6 separate regions of the Homo sapiens genome follow, and regions 1, 2, 3, 5 and 6 are each linked to region 4. Evidence: promoter capture Hi-C in 16 types of primary human blood cells and fetal thymus (Javierre and others, 2016). All regions are on one chromosome and are shown on one strand. Each heading gives the region's core, a stretch centred on a gene start or on the middle of the fragment in contact. The rest is flanking DNA. Distances are from core to core; before and after follow the strand shown. Region 1 holds the start of IGBP1 (immunoglobulin binding protein 1). Region 2 overlaps EDA (ectodysplasin A). Region 3 overlaps IGBP1 (immunoglobulin binding protein 1). Region 4 holds the start of NALF2 (NALCN channel auxiliary factor 2). Region 5 has its middle 21 kb from the start of IGBP1. Region 6 has its middle 16 kb from the start of OTUD6A.

The links. The method cuts DNA at HindIII sites, captures the fragments that hold promoters and counts their contacts. A CHiCAGO score of 5 or more calls a contact.
Region 1: a fragment that was not itself captured here is called in contact with the fragment with the promoter of NALF2 in region 4 in 7 of 17 cell types (M2 macrophages, naive CD4 T cells, M0 macrophages and 4 more); the score reaches 11.2 in M2 macrophages.
Region 2: a fragment that was not itself captured here is called in contact with the fragment with the promoter of NALF2 in region 4 in 1 of 17 cell types (M2 macrophages); the score reaches 9.4 in M2 macrophages.
Region 3: a fragment that was not itself captured here is called in contact with the fragment with the promoter of NALF2 in region 4 in 1 of 17 cell types (total CD4 T cells); the score reaches 5.3 in total CD4 T cells.
Region 5: a fragment that was not itself captured here is called in contact with the fragment with the promoter of NALF2 in region 4 in 4 of 17 cell types (M0 macrophages, naive CD8 T cells, endothelial precursors and 1 more); the score reaches 7.5 in M0 macrophages.
Region 6: a fragment that was not itself captured here is called in contact with the fragment with the promoter of NALF2 in region 4 in 8 of 17 cell types (naive CD4 T cells, naive CD8 T cells, non-activated CD4 T cells and 5 more); the score reaches 7.6 in naive CD4 T cells.

Annotation. Positions count from the first base shown.
Region 1 is chrX:70,130,595-70,134,323 of GRCh38, reverse strand. IGBP1 (immunoglobulin binding protein 1) reads right to left here and starts at 877. Exons shown (of 7, transcript NM_001551.3): 1 at 784-877; 2 at 189-601. The coding sequence starts at 376. RefSeq lists an enhancer at 1-458. The HindIII fragment of the contact is 408 bases long and covers 1,859-2,266 here.
Region 2 is chrX:70,015,469-70,019,767 of GRCh38, reverse strand. All of the region lies in intron 2 of EDA (ectodysplasin A), which reads right to left. Among named protein-coding and RNA genes, the nearest start is that of MIR676, 5.2 kb to the left of the region's middle. The HindIII fragment of the contact is 4,558 bases long and covers 1-4,141 here.
Region 3 is chrX:70,155,815-70,159,968 of GRCh38, reverse strand. All of the region lies in intron 6 of IGBP1 (immunoglobulin binding protein 1), which reads right to left. It overlaps LOC107985683 (a long non-coding RNA gene), which reads left to right. Exons shown (of 2, transcript XR_001755877.2): 1 at 1-4,029. Among named protein-coding and RNA genes, the nearest start is that of DGAT2L6, 20 kb to the left of the region's middle. The HindIII fragment of the contact is 7,472 bases long and covers 1-4,154 here.
Region 4 is chrX:69,502,097-69,506,374 of GRCh38, reverse strand. It overlaps NALF2 (NALCN channel auxiliary factor 2), which reads right to left and starts at 2,049. Exons shown (of 3, transcript NM_015686.3): 1 at 232-2,049. The coding sequence starts at 1,092. RefSeq lists a silencer at 923-1,096. The HindIII fragment of the contact is 10,696 bases long and covers 1-4,278 here.
Region 5 is chrX:70,110,145-70,114,269 of GRCh38, reverse strand. No RefSeq gene overlaps it. Among named protein-coding and RNA genes, the nearest start is that of IGBP1, 21 kb to the left of the region's middle. RefSeq lists an enhancer at 2,288-3,487. The HindIII fragment of the contact is 3,435 bases long and covers 1-3,056 here.
Region 6 is chrX:70,076,861-70,080,626 of GRCh38, reverse strand. No RefSeq gene overlaps it. Among named protein-coding and RNA genes, the nearest start is that of OTUD6A, 16 kb to the right of the region's middle. The HindIII fragment of the contact is 4,007 bases long and covers 218-3,766 here.

The sequences.
Region 1 (3,729 bases), core at 813-3,312, 630 kb before region 4:
GAGTCGTAAGATATCAACCATCTGGGAAGAGAGGTGGGGAATGTAAACAATGTACACAAGATCGCAGTGGTAAGTAGGAACGAAACGTTCTCACCACTAAAGGTCCCCTCCACTCAGGCGCAATGGCTCCACCCTTGGTAACCATTATTACCTTCGTTCTCAGCCATTATTACTATCTTCCCCCATACCTGAACAAGTCGAGCTGCGATAACATTTCGGCAGCCTTCTCAAGGAGGTCCAAGCCCTTGAACACCTTCTCCTGGACTATCCGGGAACCGGCGGGTTCAGTCGCCACTTCTACTTCGTCCAGTAACTGTCTACCAGTTTCGAACAGCTCGGGGAGCCGCGGCAGCTGTAACTCGTCCTCAGCAGCCATCTTGGGGAGAGAGGAACCCGGAAGATCTCTTTTCCGGGGTCAAAGGCAACCTTGATAAAGAAGAATTAGGCGAGCGCGGACAAAACCGGAAGAAGCACCTCATTGGTCCAGTAGCTTCACTGTTAACAAAGCATCAAAGGACTTCCGGGAGCCGCTGTTAGCCGGCCCTGGCAACCGTTTCCATAGACTCATTTTACCAGGCAGCCCGTTACAAGTCGTAGGCATCTGTTAAAAGCAAACAAACAAGCAAAACCCTAGGCGCTGTTTTACCATGAGCTCCTCGTCGCCGACACGGGGCTGAGAAGTTCTGTGGGCTCTGAAGCCCGGGTGAGGCGAGGCTGAATTCGGAGCGCGAGGAGTGCGGACGAGCGAGTGCGTTTTAGGAGCCAGTCTGGCGCGCCCCTTACCTCGCGAGTAGCTCCCTAGGTTGAGGAGTCCAGGGACTCTAGCCGCCGCACCACTCCCACGGTTTGAAGATCCGGTCGCTTGAGCGCGAAGTGCAAGTAGCGCCCCCCTGCGGTTTCCGTCCACCCACCAGATGGAGCTCCGGGTTCCTCCCAGCCAATCCTCTCCCGTCCTCTTCCCCCTTCACCCCACACACGCCTACGACCCGTAGGCCGGCGTCCGGTGGAGCCCCCCTCAGCAAGATTGGCAACCTGCAACTCCGGTCACCGCACAGCCGGCTTCCCTTCGTGCACTTAGTTCCTACATCAAATGTTATTTCTGTGCAACCTTCCTTGTCTCTCTACCGCCTTCCACCCTGTGCCCTTCAGCCGCCAAGTCTGGGTTTCTCCTATGCATCTCTATCATGGCACCTACCACGCTGTATAATTGCTAGTGACTTACAAATCTCTCTTATCAGAATGAATTTGACTCATCTTTGCACCACTCTGGCTAGCCTGAGTACTCAGTATCAGTCATTATCTGAATAAAAAAAAAAAGTGATCAGTTTGGAAAGCAGCCAACTTATGCAGAACAGCATTGTTCAGTAGGTAGTTACTAGCTACATGTGGTTACTAAGCACTTGAAAGTGGCTATTTTGAATCGAGATGTGCTGCAAGTGTAAAAAACACCCCAGATTTCAAAGACATTTAAAAAAAAAAGAATGAAAAATGTAAATACTTTTTACATGGACTACATGTTGAAATGATAGTCTTTTGGATATGTTGGATTAAATATATTATTAGAATTAATTGTACTTCTTTCTTTTCACTTTGTAAATGTGCCTGCCAGATAATTTAAAACTATATTTGTAGCTCCCATTATATTTCTACTGGACAGAACTGATGGAAAACATAATTTCAGGACTTCAAAGAAGGGACGTCATTGTTTTGAACAAAGCAATATAAATACATACTGATTACCTTAGGACGCAGCCTGAATTGTCCTAGGAGATTTAAGTAGCAGGCACACTGTCTACCCCTGAAAATAAACTTTTAAACTAGTATTTTAAACTACATATCGTTGAGAAGAAAAAAAGCTTCATTAAAAAACAACTAGAGGGCAATATAGGACAGTATAAAATAGGTGATATGTTGTATTGCACAGGCTGTTGGAAAAGCAAGAAAGGGCAAGTCATCCCATGCTAGGAGTAGTTCAGAAGGCTTCTTAGACATGACATGCGGTCACATAGAAGAATGTCAAAGTTTAAAGGGAACCCCCAAAATCGGAGGAAAAACTTGAGACCAGAAAGGTTAAGGGACTTGTCCAGCCAGTTTGTGACAAAGTCAGTGACTTCTGCGTTCAATTGTTTCTACTCCATTAACCTTCAGTTGGGTAGGATTTAGAAAGATGAAGACCTTTAATGTGGGACAGATTGAAGCCCCAAACTAGAACAGTGCTTCCTAAGAGGGAGAGGAGGCTGTGGCACACATGTAGGTTGAAAAAGCTTCCCAGGTGATTCTAATAAACCTTCCCTTGCAACCCCTGCTTTATAAACTAAGAAGGAAGTGAGGCTTTGGCGAATTACCTATTTGGTTTATCTGGCACCTCTAGTAAACTGACCTTTCAGGGTCAGGCTTGGCAGGGAATATAAAGAAAAAGATAGTACTTGTGGAGGAGACTTAGAAATGTAGTAATTGTGAGAGTAAAGATAATTTGCTTCTCTGCATTTGCTTGGATTAAAACATGTCTTTACTGTTACTTAAGAGGAAAAAAATGTGCACAGTCTTAATTTGGTCTTAAACTTTGTAAGTCATTTTTTATGGCTTTCAAAATTAGTCTTTTTTTTTTTTTTTTTTTGAGACAGGGTCTCACTCTGCCACCCAGGCTGGAGTGCTGGAATGCATTGGCACGATCTTAGCTCACTGCAAACTCCGCCTCCTGGACTCAAGTGATCCTCTACCCTCAAGCCCCCCAATTAGCTGGGACTACAGGTGCAAGTCACCACTCCTGGCTAATTTTTGTATTTTTTTGTAGAGGCGGGGTTTCGCCATGTTGCCCAGGCTGATCTCAAACTCCTGAGGTCAAGTGATCCACCCGCTTCACCGTCCCAAAGTGTTGGGATTACAGACGTGATTCAGTGTGCCCAGCCAAAATGACGGTCTTTATGGGAGATGCCAATTACTTTCAGAGTGCCTGTTATATATTAGAGTTGTCATTTTAAGCATTGCATTTCATCTTATTCTGAAAGAATACCAAGATTAAAAAGTGGTTAGAAAAAAAGGAATAATGGCCGGGCGTGGTGGCTCATGCCTGTGATCCCAGCACTTTGGGAGGCCGAGGTGGGCAGCTCACCTGAGGTCAGGAGTTCAAGACCAGCCTGGCCAACATGGTGAAACCCTGTCTCTACTAAACATACAAAAATTAGCTGGGCATGGTGGCGCGGGCCTGTAACCCCAGCTACTCCGGAGGCTGAGGCAGTGAGCCGGGAGGCAGAGGCTGCAGCGAGCCGAGATCACACCACTGCACTCCAGCCTGGGCGACAGAGCGAGACTCTGTCTCACAAAAAAGAAAGAAAAAAAGGAATAATAAAAACGAGTCGTTTGCTGTGTTTTGTGTGTAAACACTTTATCATATTAAACTCCTGTTGTGCATGGGAGACTTTTTAAAATCCTAGTTTAGGGCACTTAACAATCATGAAAGTATAACGGTACTTAAACTTTTTGTAGTAGCATAATTCTTTTTCCAAAACAAGTTTTAGAGAGCCTGTAATTTCTAAAAGGACTGATGTATTTGAAGAGGATACAAAGAAGCCTGCCAACTCAGCCACTGGCCCATCTTCCTCAACCTGCTCAGTGAGTGGCACTCCAGGTGAGGGACTCAAGGGCTCTAAGTAACACAATATAAAAAGCATTAATCTGGCCAGGTGCAGTGGCTCCCGCCTGTAATCCCAACACTTTGGGAGGCTGAGG
Region 2 (4,299 bases), core at 613-3,112, 510 kb before region 4:
CACCCTCCTCCCACTCTCCACTCGCAAGAAGGCCCTGGTGTCTATTGTTCCCCTCTTTGTGTCCATATGTATTCAATGTGTAGCTCCCACTTATAAGTGAGAAGATGTAGCATTTGGTTTTCTGTCCCTGCATTAGTTTGCTTGGGATTACAGCCTCCAGGTCCATCCATGTTGCTGCAAAGAACATGATCTCATTCTTTTTTATGGCTGCATATTATTCCATGACATGTATGTACATTTTCTTTATCCAGTCTACTGTGCTGCATAGTATTCCATGACATGTACGTACATTTTCTTTATCCAGTCTACCGTTGATGGTCATCTAGGCTGATTCCACATCTTTGCTATTGTGAAGAGTGCTGCCATGAACATACATGTGCATGTGTCTTTATGGTAGAACAATTTATATTCTTTTGTGTATATACCCAATAATGAGATTGCTGGGTTGCATGCTAATTCTGCTTTAAGTTCTTTGAGGAATCACCGCACTGCTTTCCACAATGGCTGGACTAATTTACACTCCCACCAGAAGTATATAAGTGTTCCTTTTTCTCCACAATTTCACCAGCATCTCTTATTTTTTGATTTTTTTAGTAATAGCCATTCTGACTGGTGTGAGATGGTATCTCATTTAGTTTTGATTTATATTTCTCTAATGATCAGTGATGCTGAGCATTTTTTCATGTGCTTACTGCTCATGTATATGTCTTCTTTTGAAAAGTGTCTGTTTATGTCCTTTGCCCACTCTTTAATGGGGTTGCTTGTTTTTTTGCTTGTATATTTGTTTAAGTTTCTTATAGATACTGGATATATCTTTGTCAGATACATTGTTTGCAAATATTTTCTCCATTCTTTGGGTTGTCTGTTTACTCTGTTGATAGCTTCTTTTGCTGTTTTGCTATGCAGGAGCTCTTTAGTTTAATTAGGTCCCATTTGTCAATTTTTGTTTTTGTTGCAATTGCTTTTCATGTCTCTGTCATAAATTTTTTTCCAGGGTCTATGTCTAGAATGGTATTTCCTAGATTTTCCTCAAGGGTTTTTATAGTTTTGGGTTTTAAATTTAAGGATTTAATCCACCTTGAGTTAATTTTTGTATATGGTGTAAGGAAGGGGCCCAGTTTCAATTATCTCTGCTTATGGCTAGCCAGCTATCCCAGCACCATTTATTGAATAGTAAGTCCTTTCTAGATCGTTTGTTTTTGTTAATTTTGTCAAAGATCAGATGGTCATAGGTGTGTGACATTATTTCTGGGCTACCTATTCTATTCCATTGTTCGATCTGTACCATACTGTTTTGGGTATTGCAGCCTTAACATATAGTTTGAAGTCAGGTAATATGATGCCTCCAGCTTTGTTCTACTTGCTTTGGATTGCCTTGGCTATTCAGGCTCTTTTTTGGTTCCATATGAATTTTAAAATAGTTTTTTCTAGTTTTGTGAAGAATGTCATTGGTAGTTTGATAACAATAGCATTGAATCTGTAAATTTCTTTGGGTATTATGACCATTTTGACAATATTGATTCTTCTGACGCATAAACATGGAATGTTTTTTCCATTTGTTTGTGTCATCTCTGATTTCTGTGAGCAGTGCTTTGTAATTCTCAGTGTAGAGGTCTTTCACCCCTTGTTTAGCTGTATTCCTAGGTATTTTATTCTTTTTGGGCTGTTGTGAATGGGACTGCATTCTTGTTTTGGCTCTCAGCTTGGATGTTGCTGGTGTATAGGAATGCTACTAATTTTTGTACATTGATTTTATATCCTGAAACTTGCTGGAGTTGTTTATCAGATCAAGGAGCTTTTGGGCAGAGACTATGGGGGTTTTCTAGGTATAGAATCATATTGTCTGCAAAGAGGGATAGTTTGACTTCTTCTCTTCCTATTTGGATGCCTTTTATTTCTTTCTCTTGCTCGATTGCTGTGGCTAGTAGTTCCAATACTGTGTTGAATGGGAGTGGTGAGAGAGGGCATCCTTGTCTTGTTCTGGTTCTCAATAAGAATGCTTCCAGCTTTTGCCCATTCAGTATGATGTTGGCTGTGGGTTTGTCATAAATGGCTCTTATTATTTTAAAGTACGTTCCTTCAATGCCTAGTTTGTTGAGGATTTTTAACATGAAGTGGTGCTGTATTTTCTTGAAAGCCTTTTCTGCATCTATTGAGATGATTATGTGGTTGTTGTTTTTAGTTTTGTTTAGGTGGTGAATAATTTTTATTGATTTACGTACATTGAACAAACCTTGCATTCCAGGGATAAAGCCTACTTGATTGTGGTGGCTTAGCTTTTTTGAGGTGCTGCTAGATTCAGTTTGCTAGTATTGTGTTGAGGATTTTTGCTTTTATGTTCAACAAGGATATTGGCCTGAAGTTTTTTTTGTCTCTGCCAAGTTTTGGTAGCAGGATGATGCTGGCCTCAGAGTGAGTTAGGGGGAAGCCCCTCCTCCTCAACTTTTTGGAATAGGTTCAGTAGGAATGGTACCAACTCTTCTATGTACATCTGGTAGAATTTGGCTGTGAATCCACCTGGTCCTGTGCTTTTTAGTTTCTTAGCAGGCTATTTATTACTGAGTCAATTTTGGAGCTCATTATTGGTCTGTTCAGGGATTCAATTTCTTCCTGGCTCAGTCTCAGGAGGTTGTATGTTTCCAGGAATTTATCAGTTTCTTCTAGGTTTTCTAGTTTGTGTGCATAGAGGTGTTTTTGATAGTCTCTGATTTTTTTTTTTGCATTTCTGTTGTATTGATGGTAATGCCCCTTTTGTCATTTCTGACTGTGTTTATTTTGATCTTCTCTCTTTTTTTCTTTATTACTCTAGCTAGTGGTCTATCTTATTTATTCTTTCAAAAAACCAAGTATGATTTCATTGATCTTTTGTATGTTTTTTCACATCTCAAATACATTCAGTTCAGCTTTGATTTTGGTTATTTCTTGTCTTCCGCTAGTATGGGGTTGGTTTGCTCTTGTTTTTCTAGTTCCTCAAAGTGTGATGTTAGGTTGTTAATCTGAGATCTTTCTAACTTTTTGATGTGGGCATCTAGTACTTAGCACTGCTTTAGCAGTGCCCGAGAGATTCTGGTAAGTTGTATCTTTGTTTTCATTAGTTTCAAAGAATTTCTTGGTTTCTGCTTAATTTCATTATTTTCCCAGAAGTCATTCAGGAGCAGGTTATTTGTATGGTTTTGAGTGATCTTCTTGGTATTGATTTCTATTTTTATTGTGCTGTGGTTTGACAGTGTGGTTGGTATGATTTCTGTTTTTCTTTTTTAATTTGCTGAGAATTGTTTTATGGCCAATTGTGTGGTCAATTTTAGAGCATATGCTATGTGCAGATAAGAAGAATGTATATTCTGGGTTTTTTTTTAATTGGTAGAGAGTTCTGTAGATGTCTGTTAGGCTCATTTGGTCAAGTATCAAGTTCAGGTCTGAAATATCTATATTAGTTTTCTGCCTCAATGATCTTTCTAATACTGTCAGTGGGGTGTTGAAGTCTCCCACTATTACTGTACGGTTATCTAAGTCTCTCTGTAGGTCTCTCAGAGCTTGTTTTATAAATGTGGGTACTCCTGTGTTGGGTACATATATATTTAGGATAGCTAGGTCTTCTTGTTGAATTGAACCATTTACCATTATGTAATGCCCTTCTTTGTCTTTTAAAATTGTTGTTGGTTTAAAGGCTGTTTTGTCTGAAGTTAAAATAGCAATCCCTGTTTTTTTTTGTTTTTTTTTTTCTTTCTCCATTTGCTTGGCAGATTTTCTCCATCCCTTTACTTTGGGCCTATGAGTGTCACTGTATGTGAGATGGGTCTCTTGAAGAAAGAAGTTGGGTCTTGCTTCTTTATCCAACTTGCCACTATGTGACTTTTAATTGGTGCATTTGTCCCATTTACATTCAAGGGTAATATTGATATGTGCAAATTTGATCTTGTCATTGTGTTGTTAGCTGGTTATTATGTAGACTTGATTGTATAGTTGCTTTATAGTGTCAATGGTCTATGTACCTAATTGTGCTTTTGTGGTAGCCAGTAATGGTCTTTCATTTCCATATTTACCACTCCCTTAAGGACCTCTTGTAAGGTCTGGTGGTAATGAATTTCCTTAGCATTTGCTTGCCTGAAAAGGATCTTATTTCTCCTCTGCTTATGAAGCTTAGTTTGGCTGGACATGAAATTCTTGGTTGGAGTTTCTTTTTTTTATTGTTGTTTAGATGGAGTCTCACTCTGTTGCCCAGGCTGGAGTGCAAAGGCGTGATCTCGGCTCACTGCAACCTCCGCCTCCTGGGTTCAAGTGATTCTCCTGCCTCAGCCT
Region 3 (4,154 bases), core at 1,221-3,720, 650 kb before region 4:
AGCCCTCCGGGGTCTGAGCCACTGAGGTGTCCCACCTTCCTGGGGAGCAAAGCCAACATTGCACTGCATCCCACCCCCTGGAGCCCAAGCCACAGCTATGCCCTACCATTCCTGGGGCTGTGTTGCCACTGCACCCGGCCTCATAGAGCTTCCAGGGTCCAGAGTCACCACTATACAGCATCTTCTTTCCTGGTGCCTGAATTGCCACTGTGCCCTGCTCCCTGGGGTCTGAGCGTCTGGAACACCCCTCCCTCCCCAGAGCCATGCCAGTACTATGCCCTGACCCCCAGGTTAGGAATCACAGCTACGTCCCTGCCCCTGGGCCCGAGCTACTGAGAAGTGCCTCAGAGTCATAGTCCTTGCCTTGGTGGGAGAGCAGCATCCACCTGTGCCTGAGACTGAACCTGCACCCATGTCACAGGTCCCGCAGCAGTTCAAGAAGACACTGGACCCAGGACCAAGCTCCACAGCCACCCTGAGCACCCGTGCCTTGGAACACAGCACTGCTGTGGCTGCCTGTGGGTCGCGTCACACCCAACACCAAGAGATTCCCCCCGCGCAACTTTTTTAATCCCAAGAAACTTTCCTTAATATTAACTTTTAGCATTTATTCTTTTTCCTTGCTTTGGCTTTCTTCTTCAGATAATCCTATTATCTATATGCCAGGTCTTCTTTACTATCTTTAGTATATGTCACTTTTCCTCAAACCCTGTTTATCTTTTTTCGTTTTAAAATTTTCCTTCCTTTTACCATAGTAAGGCATTTTCTGTTGTGTTCACTCATTCTTGTTTCCTTCTACTTTAGCCTATATTTCTGAAATGATTCATGTTCCCCAAGCTGTCATATTTCTGAGTTTTTCTAATCCTGCTTTATATTGTCCTTCCATGTCCTATGTTATTTTCTGAATATCTTCCAACTCTTTTTTGGATACCATGTTTCAGATTTGTTCTGTTTTTTTGAGCGTGTCTTTCTGTAGTGTTTTTCTCTTCTAATAACTTTGTGTAGGGTTTGACTTTGATAATTTTCTGTTCCCTTTTTCTCAGCTTTGTGCTGTATTTCACAATCCATAAAATCTACCCACTTAAAAGTATACATTTCAGTGTTTCTTTTTGTTTTTTTATTTTTTGAGACAAAGTCTCACTCTGTTGCCAGGCTGGAGTGCAGTGGCACGATCTCGACTCACTGCAACCTCTGCCTCCCAGGTTCAAGCCAATTCTCCTGCCTCAGCCTCCCAAGTAGCTGGGACTACAGGCACGTACCACCATGCCCGGCTAATTTTTCTTTTTTTTTTGTATTTTTAGTAGAGACGGGGTTTCACCATCTTGGCCAGGCTGGTCTCAAACTCCTGACCTTGTGATCCGCCTCCCAAAGTGCTGGGATTACAGGTGTGAGCCAACAGTTCAGTGTTTTATATTCAGAGTTGTGCAACCATCACCACAATCTGTTGTTCATTTTTACGTGAAATGTTTTCCTAAACTTGTAGAAAGAAGCATGGTTCAGAGTAGCTTTTCTAACTTCATAAGGGCTCCCTTTCTGCTGTTTTCATGTGAATTAAAGAAATATGATTACTTGCTTGATTGGAGTTCCTGGTTCTGGTCCTCTCTCCTAATTTCATCTGGACCTTTTCTTTCTTTTTCTATTCCTGTCCTGCTTAATTTCAATTCTACTCTCAGCAATTTCTCCTCAGTGTGAGTCCCTGTCCTGGAAGGGAGACCGGTGGATCAACTTCAAGAGTTCACTAAGGACTAGACTACTCTATCGCTTTCAGACCTTCTGACTATTGGACCCTCATACTCATCCCTCCCAGTTTCAACTGCAGTTCTTAAATTGGACTGCCATTCTTTCTAGGGAATACACTGTTTTGGAATTCTGTTTGTCAAGTTTTTCAGATGGCCTGTCAACTCTGGTTTTCTCCTGCACAGATGCCAATAACTGCTGGATCTTGTGGCTATGGGTAATTTGCCCTTACCTGTTTTTATTGTGAGGTTCATGGGGATACACTGCCACCTATTTTCATTATAAATATTGTCCATGGGTTTTTTCACATTCACTGAAGTGCAACATACGTGTAGAAAAGTATACTAACATTTGTATAGCTCAGTGACCTCTCACATATTGAACACATCCATGTAATCAGTACCCAGATGAAGATACAAAATATTTCTAACTCCTCAGAAGACCCTGTAGGTCCAGTTCCATTCATGATCCCCAACTAAGGGTGAACACTTACTAGCTTTCAACCAGCACACACAAGTATCACCTGTTTGTTGAAGTTTGTATGAATGGAATCATACAGTATATACTCTTTTGCGTCTGGCTTTTTTCACACGATTCAGCTATATTTGTCACTTATAGCAAACAAACTATAGTTTAACCTTATTGCTACATAGTTTTCCATTGTGTGAATATACCAAAATTTATTCTTCATTCTATTATTTATGGGCATTTGAGTGGTGTGTATTCAGTGTGGACTATTACAAATAATGCTGCTATGTTCAATCTTGTACAGGTCTTTTGTGGACATATGGTCTCACTCCTCTTAGGTATATACCGAGTAGTGAAACTGCCAGGTCATGGGAGTATACACGTGTCCAATTTTTGTGCATTACTACCAGAACCATGACCACCCCTAGTTTCCCTGCCTTTATTTCCTTTCATCTATTTACTTTGGGCTTTCTTTGTTCCCTATGCCCCCACCCCCACCCTTGTTAAGGTAAAACCTTAGGTAATTGATTTTATCTTCCTTTTTTCTAACATAAGTGTTGAAAGTTACACACATTTCCATCTCAGCATTGCTCGAGTTGTATCCCATAAATTCTGATGCTGTACTTTCACTGTAATTCTGTTCAAAGTATTCTCTTTTATTTATTTTTAAATGGGCAAACATATTTATTGTGTACAGTATGTTTTGAAGTATATATTATGGGATAGCTAAATCTAGCTAATTAAAAGATGCAGTACCTTACACATTGTTATTTTTGCAGTAAGAACACTTAACATCTACTCTGTATTTTATTTTCATTTTTTTTGAGATGGAGTTTTGCTCTGTTGCCCAGGCTGGAGTGCAATGGTGTGATCTTGACTCACTGCAACCTCTGCCTCCCAGACTCAACCGATTCTCCTGCCTCGGCCTCCCGAATAGCTGGGATTACAGGCGCCCGCCACCACGCCCGGCTAATTTTTCTATTTTTATTAGAGACGAGGTTTCACCATGTTGGCCAGGTTAGTCTTGAACTCCCAACCTCAGGTGATCCACCCGCCTCGGCCTCCCAAAGTGCTAGGATTACAGGCGTGAGCCACCGCACCCAGCCATTAACGATAGTCACCATGCTGTATAACAGATCTCTTGAACTTATTCCCAGTTAGAAGTATTTTCTAATTTTCTTTCTAATTTCTTCTTAGACCTATAGGTTATTTAGAAGTGTACTGTTTAATTTTCAAATATTTGAGAATTTTCTAGGTACATTATTGATTTCTAATTTAATTCCATTGTGGTCTGAGGACATATTCAGTGTGATTTCAATTTTTGAAAATTTATTGAGACTTATTTCATGGACCAGTATATGATCTACCTTGGTGAATGTTCCATGGGTATCTGAAAAGAAGGTGAAGGCATACCTCGTTTTATTGTGCTTCACTCTATTGTGCTTTGCAGAGACTTTTTTTTTTTTTTTTTTTTTTAACAAATTGAAGGTTTGTGGCAACCCTGCAGCGAGCAAGTCTATTGGTGCCCTTTTTCTAAGAGCATTTGCTCACTTTGTGTCACTGTGCCACATTTTGGTAATTCTCAGTTTCTCAAACTTTTTCATTATTTCATTTGTTATGGTGATCTGTGGTCTTTGGTATTACCAGTGTAATTGTTCTGGGGCACCACAAACCATGCCCACAGAAGACAGAGAACTTAATGGGTAAATGTGTTATGTTCTGACTGCTCCACTGACTGGCTGTCCCAACCCTGCTCCAGGCCTCTCTGTTCCTTGAGACACAACAATATTGAAATTGGGCCAATGAATAACCCTACAGTAGCCTGTAAGTATTCAAGTAAATAATTTGAAAATTATTAGGCACAAATGCATTTATGACTGCTATGTCTCCCTGATAAATTGCCACTTTATCAGTAGGAAATGCCCTTTTAAAATCTCTGATAATACCTT
Region 4 (4,278 bases), core at 800-3,299:
CTAAGGTGCCCAAACCCGGAATTAATAGAAGTTAGCCAGGTGGTTACCTGACCTGAATCCCTGAGGCCTCTTCACTAGGGAAGGTCCCAGGGTGGCACTGGTAGTGCTGCACTGGGCACGGTGGGAGTGGTGGGGTGGGTAGAAAGGGAGACTTCCTTTTTTCTCCCGGTCCCACTGCGGCCGCTGCCGCTGCCCAGGGCGGCTGCTGTGGCTGCGGAAGCCAGTCCTTACCTTACAGCCTTTCGTGCAGGACCGGATTGAGTACTCTTCCGCCTGTAAGTATTTATGCAGCACGAGGTCGAACTCGTCATATTTTTCCTGAGCGTGTCGGTCCAGCCGCTGGTACGCCTCGATACAGTTGCTACACGCCTCCCAGGCCCCGGAGCCCGGGCTGGCCACCACGGCCAGCAGGTCCCCCATCAGGGTGTCCAGGCTACAGTCCAGGCTGTCGGGGCGGTCCATGCCCAGCAGCAAGTCCCAGACCGTGTAGGTGTCGCAAAAGGAGAGAGTGAAGTTCCGAAAGTGGCCTTTGAGCAAGTTTTTTTTGGCGGAGGGGAACTCGGCCGGGGCACGGGAAAGGGAGTCAGGGGGCCGCAGAGGGGGGGCCGGAGTAGTCGGTTCGAAAAGTCTCTGCAAAGATTGCAATTTGGTGCAAGCTGCGTCCAGCCCCGTGGGCTCTGGGACGCCGCCGCAGACCGGCCGAGAGCCGGCGGCGGGGGCGGCTTTGGTCAGGTTGCTGTATCTGGGGCCGCAGGTGCCTGGGGGCGCGCTGGGCTCGCCGGGCGGCGGCGGCGGCAGCGGCAGCACCGCGCGAGGAGGCACCGGCTGCCGCTCCCGGCCGGCCCCCCATGGGGGCCGCATGGCGCTGCTCAGCTCCCTGGCCCGGGGCCGGGCCCCCGCGCACAGCCACAGATGGTCAGCGAGCAGCACGGTGAAGAAGAGCAGGGACGCCAGGGACAGTCGCCATCGCTGCGCCCGCTCGGAGTCGGCGCAAGGTTTGTCGCTCGGCCTGGGAGCCCAGCAGCAGCAGCAGCAGCAGATAGTCAGCGCGGCGGCGTCTTTCCCGGGCCACATCCAAGCGCCCCTGAACATATTTCAGGGGGGTCCGGGCTGGAGGGAACAGGCAGGCGCGAGGCCAGACGGCCGTCTGGGGCGGGCGGGCTGCGCGCCGCTCTGCGCTCCTCGGCGCCGTCCAGGCTCTACCTCGGGGGCTGCATGGTGAGGCAGGCCGGCCGGCGCGATGCCCCGCTCAGGCCGGAGTCGCGGGGCGCTCTGGTGCCGTCTCCGCGCCGCTCCCGCGCTCCGTCGCTCTCAGCCCGGGCGCCGCCGCCCGGCCCGCTAGGCGCTGCCCGGCGTCCCGGCTGGGGGCGGTGCGGGGCACTGGGGCGGTGGCGGCTGCGGCGGCGGCGCCGCACTCCTCATAGTGTCGGGCCCCTCAGCTGCCCTCGGCTCCGTGCCACTTCACTCCGCGCCGGCGGCCGCCCGGCTCGCACTCCAAACCGGCCGTCTCGGTTCGGCGCAGCTCTGCGCCCCTCAGCGCCGCCGTGCGGGCCCCGCCGCCGCGCTCCGCTCCGCTCCCCTCGCCCCGCGCCGCTCCGCTCCCGCCCGTCCGCCCGCTGCCCGCTCCACGCCGCTCCCTGCCTCGCTCGCGCCCTCCTAGGCCGGCCGGCCGGTCCGTTGCCGGGCCCTTCGGGCTTCGTTCGCGCTCCGGGTGTTCGCCGGGGCCAGTCCCTGGCGGGCTCCGCTCTGGCTCCGCACCCGCTGCTCCTGGAGTTCCGGCTCGGGCGGGCCACCTGGCTCCCGGCAGCGCCACAGGCGCCGGACGCAGACACCGGGCTTTACTTAGTGCGCCTCTCGCTTCCGCCTCTCGTTCGCACCGCTGTGGCTGCAGCCCAGCGGCACGGCCCCGTGGCTCCCGCTGGCCATGCACCCTCAGTCTGTCGCCATCTTCCGCTGTGCGGAGAACACCTTGAGAGCCCCTGTGCAAGTGTGTTTGGCGGGGAGCAGGGCGGAGAAAGAGGCACGGAGAGGAGGAGGGAGCGGGACTGGTGCCCCGACTGCGCCTGCGCCTCAGGACTCCCCCCACCCCACCCCGCCCCAGCCCCCGCCGGCCGCAGCCGGTGCTGTTTGGGGATGTTTCCAGTCCACCCCCAACTCCATTCACTTCAGCGCCTCCGTTCATCCGCCCGCTGCCCGCGTGCACATGCCACACGCTGAGTCCCAGGCCTCGGCGCTCCCCCTCCCCCACTAACCCGGGCGCCCGCCTTCCTCTCCATGGCCGTCCCTCACTCCCCCGAGGGCTAGGGGACTTCTGAGGGTGATTCTTGGAGGCAAGGAGCAGCAGGCATCTCGTAGCTGCTTGCTGCCTCTCTGGGTCGCCTCCGCCGTCCCCGTGACTGGAAGACGCTCGAGCCGGCTGCGGATCGGACCAGTCCAGTGTCCCTAACTCCACCTTCGCCCTCACCGTCCTGCCCGAGGACAAGGCGGCCCTTGGTGCTGAAGGACAGCTCCCAGCTTAGCTGCTGAGGAAGACTGAGTTTGGAGAGCGTCCTGGAGGGGGCAAGGCGGTGGGCTAAGATAGTAGTGGTGGGGTGTCGGTGTTTGCCCTTAGGAATATTTCCAGCAGCCTCCACCCCCCACCCGCCCGCCCCCCACCCAAGCACCAGCCCCCGTCCTAGCTTTTTGGCTCCCCCTACAGGCTGCTGAGAATAGCTGACTGAGAGTTAGAGAAGCTGCGCCGCCCGGATGGAACCATGTGCTTGGGCCCTCACAGAGTCACATGGCACTAGGAATTCGGACGTACAAACATCCTGACGCGCCACTAACCTTGTTTGGACTCCACTGACCCTGTGGTCTGCTTGCCTTCCTCACTCCCAGTAACTCACATTGTAATTTTTTGTCAACCGTTGCCGGCAAGCATTTGTTAATGTTAAGAATAACAATAAAGAAAATAGCCTTAATTGAGCGCGTACTATGTGCTAGGTACTGCTCTATACATTTTGCATGCATTCGTCATCCAATCTTCACAACAGTGTTATGAGATAGGTACTACTGTTATCTTCATTTACATACAAAGAAGCTGAGGTTTAGTGTGGTTGTTGCCTAAAGTAACCAGAGCAGCTAAAAAAGAAACTCAGTCTGACTCTAGAATTCTCTTAACACTCCAGTAAGGCCCTGGAAAGATGAAAGAGCCAAGGCATTCCTTCCTTAAAGGAAATTATAGTCTATATAAGGAAACAAGACATGTATATTGGCTAGTGGGAGGATTCATGAACTAGAGCCTTGGATAAATAACTCAACTGCTGATATGCTGTGTACCCTTGAGAGTCTTTTCCTTTTCTGAGTCTTGGTTTTCCCCTGAGTAACACGAAGGGATGCCAAGGATCAAATGAAATGGGTGGGCATCGTTAGCACTACTCAGAGGTGGACTGGGGTGGGTACATAAAAGGTTTCTGGAAGAGGGACAAATGGAGCTAGTTTCTAAAGTAGCAGGATTAGGGTGGGTGGTTGAGAAGGGCATTCCAAATAAAAGGAATGCAGATGAAAAGTTTCAGGGGTAGGGAGCAGCTTTGTATGTTTGTGAAGCCACGAGTGTGGCAGTTTGGCTATATTGATGGTGAGAATTTGTGGGGAAGGGAGTAGCAGGAAATGAGACAAGGGACAAAACTGTCAGGCATTTGGGAGGCCTATTTATTCATTATGTTACAAGCACTGTGCTAGGGGCTAAGTAGGATACTGCGGTGAATCAGACGGCCCTGCCCTTGAGGTGCTCACAGTTGAATTAGAGAGGCAGACATGTTAAAGAAGAAATTGCAACCTAGTGCAATAAGGATGGTAGGTGTCCCTCCCATAGAGGGAGGGACCAGTCAACTTTGCCAGATTCCCTCAGAGATGATTCTGCACACAGCCGCTGGAGTTGAGTCATTCATTCATTGATTCATTCCTTTGTCAAACATCTATTGAGGATCTATTACATTCTAGATGCTGTATTAGGCATCAGCAATATAGACATGAGTAAAATATGTGTCTTGAGCTGAAGGAGTTTAGTTGAAACCTTAAGGGATGAGTAAGGACCGGCTGGACAGGTAGCAAAGAAGGCGGTGTGTGAAGGATGTCCCAGGCAGTGGGAATGTTATGTGTAAAGGACCAGAAGTAACGCCAGGAATGGTACGTTCAGAAACCTGCAAAGTAGTTCATCATGACTAGGTGTGAAGTGGGAGCACTGCCAAAATGAGGCTGAGGATTTGGCAGGAGCCAAATCATGAAGGGCCCTGGGTG
Region 5 (4,125 bases), core at 90-2,589, 610 kb before region 4:
ATTACAGGTGCATGCCACCACGCTCGGCTAACTTTTGTATTTTTAGTAGAGATAGGGTTTTGCCATGTTGGCCAGGCTGGTCTCAAACTCCTGACCTCAGGTGATCCACCCGCCTTGGTCTCCCAAGGTGCTGGGGTTACAGGGGCCTGCCACCAGTCCTGGCTAATTTTTGTACTTTTAGTAGAGACTGGGTTTCGCCATGTTGGCCAGGCTGGTCTTGAACTCCTAAGCTCAAGTGATCTGCCCACCTCAACCTCCCAAAGTGCTGAGATTACAGGCATGAGCCATCGCACCAGGCCCATGGTATAAAATCTCTTAAAGGAGTTCTATTCAAATTGGCTGTAGACATTGGTTGGGAATGGTGGCCCATGCCTGTAATCCCAACTCTTTTGGGAGGCTGAGATGTGAGGATTGTTTGAGCTCTAGAATTCAAGACCAGCCTGTGCAACATAGTGAGACCTTGTGTCTACTTAAAAAAAAAATTAACAGGGCATGGTCGTGTGTGTCTGCAAGTGCCAGCTGCTTGGGAGGCTGAGGTGGGAGAGTCGCTTGAGCTTGGCAGATGAGGCTGCAGTGAGCTGTGATCGCACCACTGCAGTACATCCAGCCTAGCTGAGAGAGCAAAACCATGTCTCAAACAAACCAAAAACCAAATTGGCTTAGAGGTAAATGAGTGCTTATATAAATGAAAAACTAAAACTGCTAGAAATATGATAACTAACTCAAATATTTTTCAAGTTTATGTGACTTGGGTAAATCTTTGGTAAATAAGACTAGCTTGTTACTGTTGGTTTAATGAAAACAGCTGCATCTTCTGAGCTGTCAACAAGAAACAAACCAACAAACAAATTAAAAAAACACCCATGTAATTTGCTTTGGTGATGACTGCCTGACATGCATATGCTGTAAAAATAGTTAATAGTGCCCAGGCACAGTGGCTCATGCCTGTAATCCCAGCACTTTGGGAGGCTGAGGCTGGTGGATTGCTTGAGGTCAGGAGTTTGAGATCAGCCTGGCCAACATGGTGAAACCCCGTCTCTACTAAAATACAAAAATTAGCTGAGTGTGGTGGCGCACACCTGTAATCCCAGCTACCAGGGAGGCTGAGGCAGGAGAATTGCTTGAACCCAGGAGGTGGAGGTTGCAGTGAGCCAAGATTGCACCACTGCACTCCAGCCTGGGCTACAGAGTGAGACTCTGTCTCAAAAACAAAAAAAGAAAAAGTTAATAGTGAAATAACTTGAGTTGATGGCTAGTTTTGTCTAATGTCTCATGAAATTTTCATGAGTAATCCAAACATGATTGTTAAGAATGAGTAAATTAAATAAGATGTAAATAAAATTTATAAATAAACTTAAACAATAATTATGTTTTATTATATGTTTACTTAAAAAGTTTCCCAAATCTCTTTGGTAACTCCTACCTACAGAGTTTTGCTAAGTTAAATTGAATGGTGGCTATTCACTGAACATCCAGATCATTTCCAAATAAGATAAAATACTAAAACATTAATTTCTGAACATAAGTTTATTTACTTTCGGCTTCTTGAATTCTATAGAAGTACAAAATATATTTTGGATCTGTTAGTAAGTATGTCCTGTTCCACAATGAAAAATTGTTCTAGCAGAAAACATGTTTGCAAAAATTATGAAATGTGTATTAATAAAGTGCTAGTACATGACAGTTCAACATTGCTTACTTCCTAGGTTTACACTAGGAATTAGGGTTACTGTATTAGTCTGTTTTCACACTGCTCTAAAGAACTTCCCTGAGGCTGGGCAATTTATAAAGGAAAGAGATTTAATTGACTCAACAATTCCACATGGCCGGGGAGTCCTCAGGAAACTTACAATGAGGCACCTTCTTCATAAGGTGGCAGAAGGAAGAAGTGAGAGTGCAGGAAAAACTGCCACTCTAAAAGCCATCAGATCTCGAGGCTGGATGCAGTGGCTCACGCCTGTAATTCCAGCACTTTGGGAGGCCAAGGTGGGCAGATCACTTGAGACCAGGAGTTCGAGACCAGCCCGGCCAACATGGCGAAACCCTGTCAACACTAAAAAAATACAAAAATTAGCCAGGCATGGTGGTATGTGCCTGTAATCCCAGCACCTTGGGAGTTGGAAGCAGGAGAATCACTTGAGCCTGGGAGGTGGAGGTTGCAGTGAGCCTAGATTGAGCCACTGCACTCCAGCCTGGGTGACAGAGCAAGACTCAAAACAAAACAAAAAAAATCAGATCTTGTGAGAATTCACTCACTATCACAAGAACAGCATAGGGGAAACTGCCCCCATAATCCAATCACTTCCCTCCCTGGACACATGGGGATTACAGGTCCCTCCCCTGACACCATGGGGATTACAGTTCCAGATGAGATTTGGGTGGGGACAGGGTCAAACTATATCGGTTACTAAGACTTAAAATCCTAACATGTAATCAAAACTACTAGAAATAAGAGAACATTGTATACAAAATGTACAAAGAAAGATGATCTACGGTATGTGAATGTGTTTTTTTGTTGTTGAGGGAAAGCGTTAGAAATGCTTGTTCCCTGGTGCTGCAAAGAAATAGCACTTGAACATAAATTTAATTCTCTCAGCAAGGCCATTTTTACTTTCTGCAGAAAGGGTGCCTCTCACAGATGGAACAATGGTGATAGCACACTTGAACAAAGGAAAAGAAGACATATTTATCCCTTACACATTTGGGTTGTCCTTACTGCTGTGTCCTGCATCCATTGGCTGGAGCTGGACCTCACAGTCTTAAACTGATACCCGATTTGCTGATAGCCTAAATCTTTCCTAAATAGGTAAGTGCAAGGGGGAACAAAGAAGGAGAGGAAGTTGCTTATGAAAGGTTTAAGGAAGCAATAACATTTCCAAATGAGGAAGGGCTGTAAGCTATAAGCTAAGACTTGCCTGGGCCTGTCCAGACATGCCCGGGTAAGCCAAAGCAGCTAACGGGGCTAAAGTATAAGAACTGATAGTTGATAGGAGGCTTTAGAGTAAGAAGCTATTATTCCTAGTGTCTATTATTTTATTTTTAAACCAAGATAAGCTTTGAAGACGAACTTTTCTACTTTCTACAGAAAGATAATTTTGTTCAGTTGGGAGGTTATTTAAAGATTGTTTCAGAACAAATGAAGAAAAGATGGACAAAAATTTAATGGATGTAAAATTGGGAAGAGAGAGAGTAAGTGAGGGAGAATCTTGTGTGGTCAAACTGACTAAAATTTAATGAATTTGTTATAAGCGTTTTAAAAATGAGCCTTAATATCAAAAGTACACTGATGGCAAAACTAGAATTGGTCTTCTCCTTTAAAATGACAAGATTTTCTTATAGTAGTGATGAGAGACAGTGAAAGATTTGTTTTTACCTTTTGAGTGATCTGCCTAAATGAAAAGATTTTTGTTACTTATCAAAATAATTTCCTGTGCTTCATGTTGTCTTTTATCAGGTCTTTGACTACTTAAAAGAAAACAGAGTCCTATCTATTATAAGAGCTAAGGCTATTCTTTATTTGCCTTTGAAGTCTTAATTATGACTCTTGTTAAATGAATGATACAGTACTCTGTACTCTGGGATACAGGTTTATGATAACTTTACGATCATACCATTGGACTGGGTAAGAATTTCCAGAACTGTAACGAAGAAACTGATGGGCTCATGAAACTAGTAACTTAACATCAAGCAGAATGAGAATTAATTACATGGAACTGAACTGACAAAAAGATTAAATTTTTTAAAATGACTTTTTGTTTAAAACATTGCTGAGTCTTGGCTGGATGTGGTGGCTCACGCCTGTAATCCCAGCACTTTGGGAGGCCGAGGCAGGTGGATCACCTGAAGTCAGGAGTTTGAGACCAGCCTGGCCAGCATGGTGAAACCCCATCTCTACTAAAAATACAAAAATTAGCTGGGCGTGGTGGCGGGTGCCTGTAATTCCAGCTACTGGGGAGGTTGAGGCAGGAGAACCACTTGAACCTGGGGAGGCGGAGGTTGCAGTGAGCTGAGATTGCGCCACGGCACTCTAGCCGGGTGACAGAGCAAGACTCTGTCTCAAGAAAAAAAAAAATTGCTGATTCTTTTTATATTTTGTTTACTGAATTTAAAGAAACTTAAACATTT
Region 6 (3,766 bases), core at 972-3,471, 570 kb before region 4:
CTCGTGGTGCTTATTCTATTGCTTATTCTATGGAATCTTAAGGGTTACTCCCCACCATCCTTTCTTTCCTGCACTCTCCTCACCTGGCTTTTGGGGGACTATCTTCAAAGATCAGAGAGGGGAATACACCAAAGCTAAAAATTTGACCTGGCCCAAAGTAAAAAACAAAAACAAAACAACAAAAAAAGCCTGCGAAAAGTTCTTGAATTTCAAAGCTTCTGCTGCAGTTTCTTTGTGTCACTAGGGTTTAATGGATCTGTTTTTAGACAAAGCATTGTATGGGCCTCAGGTCTCTCCACCAGTAGAAACAGAAAGAACAGAAACTGCTTTGCAAAATGATGTAAAACCCAAAATCCATCATGGGTCTGAATTCAGGAAAGAAATTATTGCTTTTTAAAATGTGACTTTATTATTTCTGAGAATCACTGCTTTCCTTGAAAGGGGTGGGATGTACATACGATAAAAAGATAGGCTACGAAATCCAGCCAAATAGTTACTTACTGGAGAACTACAGGAAGAAGGATGCAGAACTCATTACAGCCAGAGTGCCAGAGCCCTCCCTGCACTGTCCTGCTGAAGCTCTTGTCTTACTGTTATCAAGTGAATCATTCTGAGTTTGGCGGCAATATTGTTTGCTGAGGGTTACTGCTGGATGACTCTTGACACATGCTTGGCTTGCTACTAACTTTATTAATTTTAATTATATATATTTTAAATTTTAACCATATTTATTATTTTGAATAAGCAATACATTCACACCCTGCCCCTTAGCCACTGAGTTTGTCTTCTTGTACTTTCTTATCTTTTCTAAGATAGTCTGTTCTCTCTCTCTCTCTCTCTCACATTCTCTCTCTCTCTCTCTCTCTCTCGCTTGCGCACACACACACACACACACACGCACACCTCTTTTTAGTTTAGCTCAGAGGTACCAAAAACCTTTAGTGTACAAAGGTTGTATACATGAAACTGGATATACTCTACTTGATAGACAATTTAAGGGATTTTATTGGGAGGAATGGACAATTTAAGGGTTGAGGGGAAGGGTCTTGCTCTGTTGCCCAGGCTGAAATGCAGTGGTGCAATCACGGTTCACTGCAGCCTCAACCTCCCAGGCTCAAGCTATCCTCCCACCTCAGCTCCTCAGCTCTCCAAATAGCTGGGACTATAGGGACATACCACCACACCTGGCTAATTTTTAGATTTTTTTTGTAGAGACGGGATCTCACTGTGTTGCCCAGGCTGGTCTTGAATCCCTGAGCTCAAGCAGTCTTCCTATCTCAGCCTTCCAATGTGCCAGGATTACAGGCGTGAGTCACCGTGTCCGGCCCTGATTTAAGGGATTTTTAAGGGCCTAAGTTTCAGTGAACCATTTCCAGAATTACTTAGAAACCAGGGAATCACCAGGATCACCTCTGATCCTGGCTTTACCCTTAATCTCCACATAAATGCTAATTCTATTCCTAATGTTCACGACTTTGGTCCCCTCCTCTCTCCCTGCTGCCACTGCCCCAATCCAGGTCAGCATCATCTGTCATGAATTAAAAGAGAAACCCTCAATTCATCTTCTTCTCTTCAATCTCTCCTTGCAATTCATTATTTCCCCCAAATGTCATCCTTTGTGTCATTCCTAAAGCATAGCTCTGATGTCTCATTTCTTCTGAAAACATTAACTTAATGGATTCCATTGCCTATATTGTAACATTCTAAATCGTCAGTAAAGAAGAGTTTTTCCTGGAAGGGTGAGCAAGTTGCAGAAAAAACATTATCTCTTATCTCAGGTATGGGGTGGTCGCTGAGTCAAGGCTCTACAGAAAAGGTAGCTCAAGAAGTTGCTGTGGGGGCTGGTCCTTATGATAAAAAACTGAGTACTCTGTGTACCCTCAGTAATGATTGAGGGCTAGAATATACCCTGAGTAACCTCTTCTTGGTTTCCAGGTGGCTGAGAATTCTAGAAAAAGTTGCTTCGTGCACATAGATTTGGAACATTGGAAAATGCTGTTGTTGCTACCCATTTCCTTCCTCCTTTCAAACAAAATTCTGATTGGGATTTTCCAAGAACTGTGAACTCACCTGCAATTCCAGGAAGGCCTTAATAGCCTCTTCCGAGGAACTGATTCAATATGGTGATTTTCCAAGGTGGCTTCAAAGGGAACAGCCTGTAGCAATTGCAGCAGTCCTGATCCGAAGGTTAAGATGGACCAAGGTTCAAAAAAAAAAAAAAAAGCAATGAAGCATCCGGGTGCGGTGGCTCACGCCTGTAATAGCACTTTGGGAGGCCAAGGCGGGTGGATCACCTGAGGTCAGAAGTTTGAGACCAGCCTGGCCAACAGGGGGAAACCCCGTCTCTACCAAAAAATGCAAAAGTTTCCTGGGCATGGTGGCAGGCGCCTGTAATCCCTCCCTACTCAGGAGGCTGAGGTGAGAGAATTGCTTGAACCCAAGAGGCGGAGGCTGCAGTGAGCTGAGATCGCACCACTGCATTCCAGCCTGGGCGACAGAGCGAGACCCCATCTCAAAACAAAAAAGCAACAAAGCTCATGCACCCATCATATCCTGACTTTTCCTCTGATTGGATGAGCCCAGGCCACGAGCTCATCTTTGTAAAAAGTGAAGTAGAGGTTCCTCTTCAAAGAGACTTTCCTCTCCGTCTAATTAGGAATAAATAGTAACTTCTCTTAGAAGCGAAATTTATTCAAATAACTGTGCTAACGTTTTAAAATATCCGCTAGCCGTAATACAGAAATCAATGTACTTTGTGTTCTTAGCTCCCACAATTTAGCCTAAATATTTGCCCTGGCATGCTTATACTGGTCCAAGCAAGCATTAGGTCATAGCCCGTTCCCCTTCCTTATTTGGAGGAGTTTTTTACCTTTCTCAGCATTCCGCAAGTTACCTCTTCCTTCCTTTGTTCTCTTCTGCCTTTGCCTCTTTTAAAAAGTTCTAAGTTGCTAGCCAATTGGGACAAATACAGAATGTGAGGTCCTGTTGCAGCCAGTGGAAACCGGTGACAGCAGTAGGGTGAATGCGTCAGGTTATAAATGACCCTGTCTCTTTTGTTCGGTATACTCTTGTGGCAAAACTGCTGGCGAGTGTGCCCTTTCTGCAGAAAGTAAAAATGGCCTTGCTGAGAGAATTAAATTTATGTTCAAGTGCTATTTCTTTGTGGCACTGGGGAACAAACATTCTATTTCTAAATAAACATTTTTACATATAACATCGTGAACCAGTCACTGTGGCCAGGGAGAAGAGGTATTTTAATTGGCAGGCCTAAGGGGGAGGGCCCTGGTGAACCCCTTTCAACTTAAGAGGGTGGGAGAGAGTTGGTGCACCAAAGGATAAGTGGGGGCTTTTGCAGGAATAGTGGGCAATGGATGCTGGAAATGTGAACAACTGTTCTCTACATGTGTCTCGCAGACTGTCATCTTTGTGTGTTTGCCTAATGGGGTTCCCTCTACCTGGAATGCCCTTGCCTTCAGCATTGCCCACCTAAATCTAAGCTGGCCTTTCAAGTCTCCCCATTTCCCTTGCTCTGTGATTCCTCCACCCCAAGCTGGCCCAGGGCATCCCCACTTCATTTCCTCATCTTCTTATTGGACCACAGCACTTACTGTTGGGCCTTGGATTGGGGGTCACTTGGATTTATGTTGGTCTCACCTCTGAGGCTAGGCCTCCTTGGAGAGCACCAAGGCAGTCTTAACTGTTTTGAGGCCTTCCTGGGCCCCAACCCAGCAAGCAGTGCCTGTCATTGGAGATACTTGATACATTT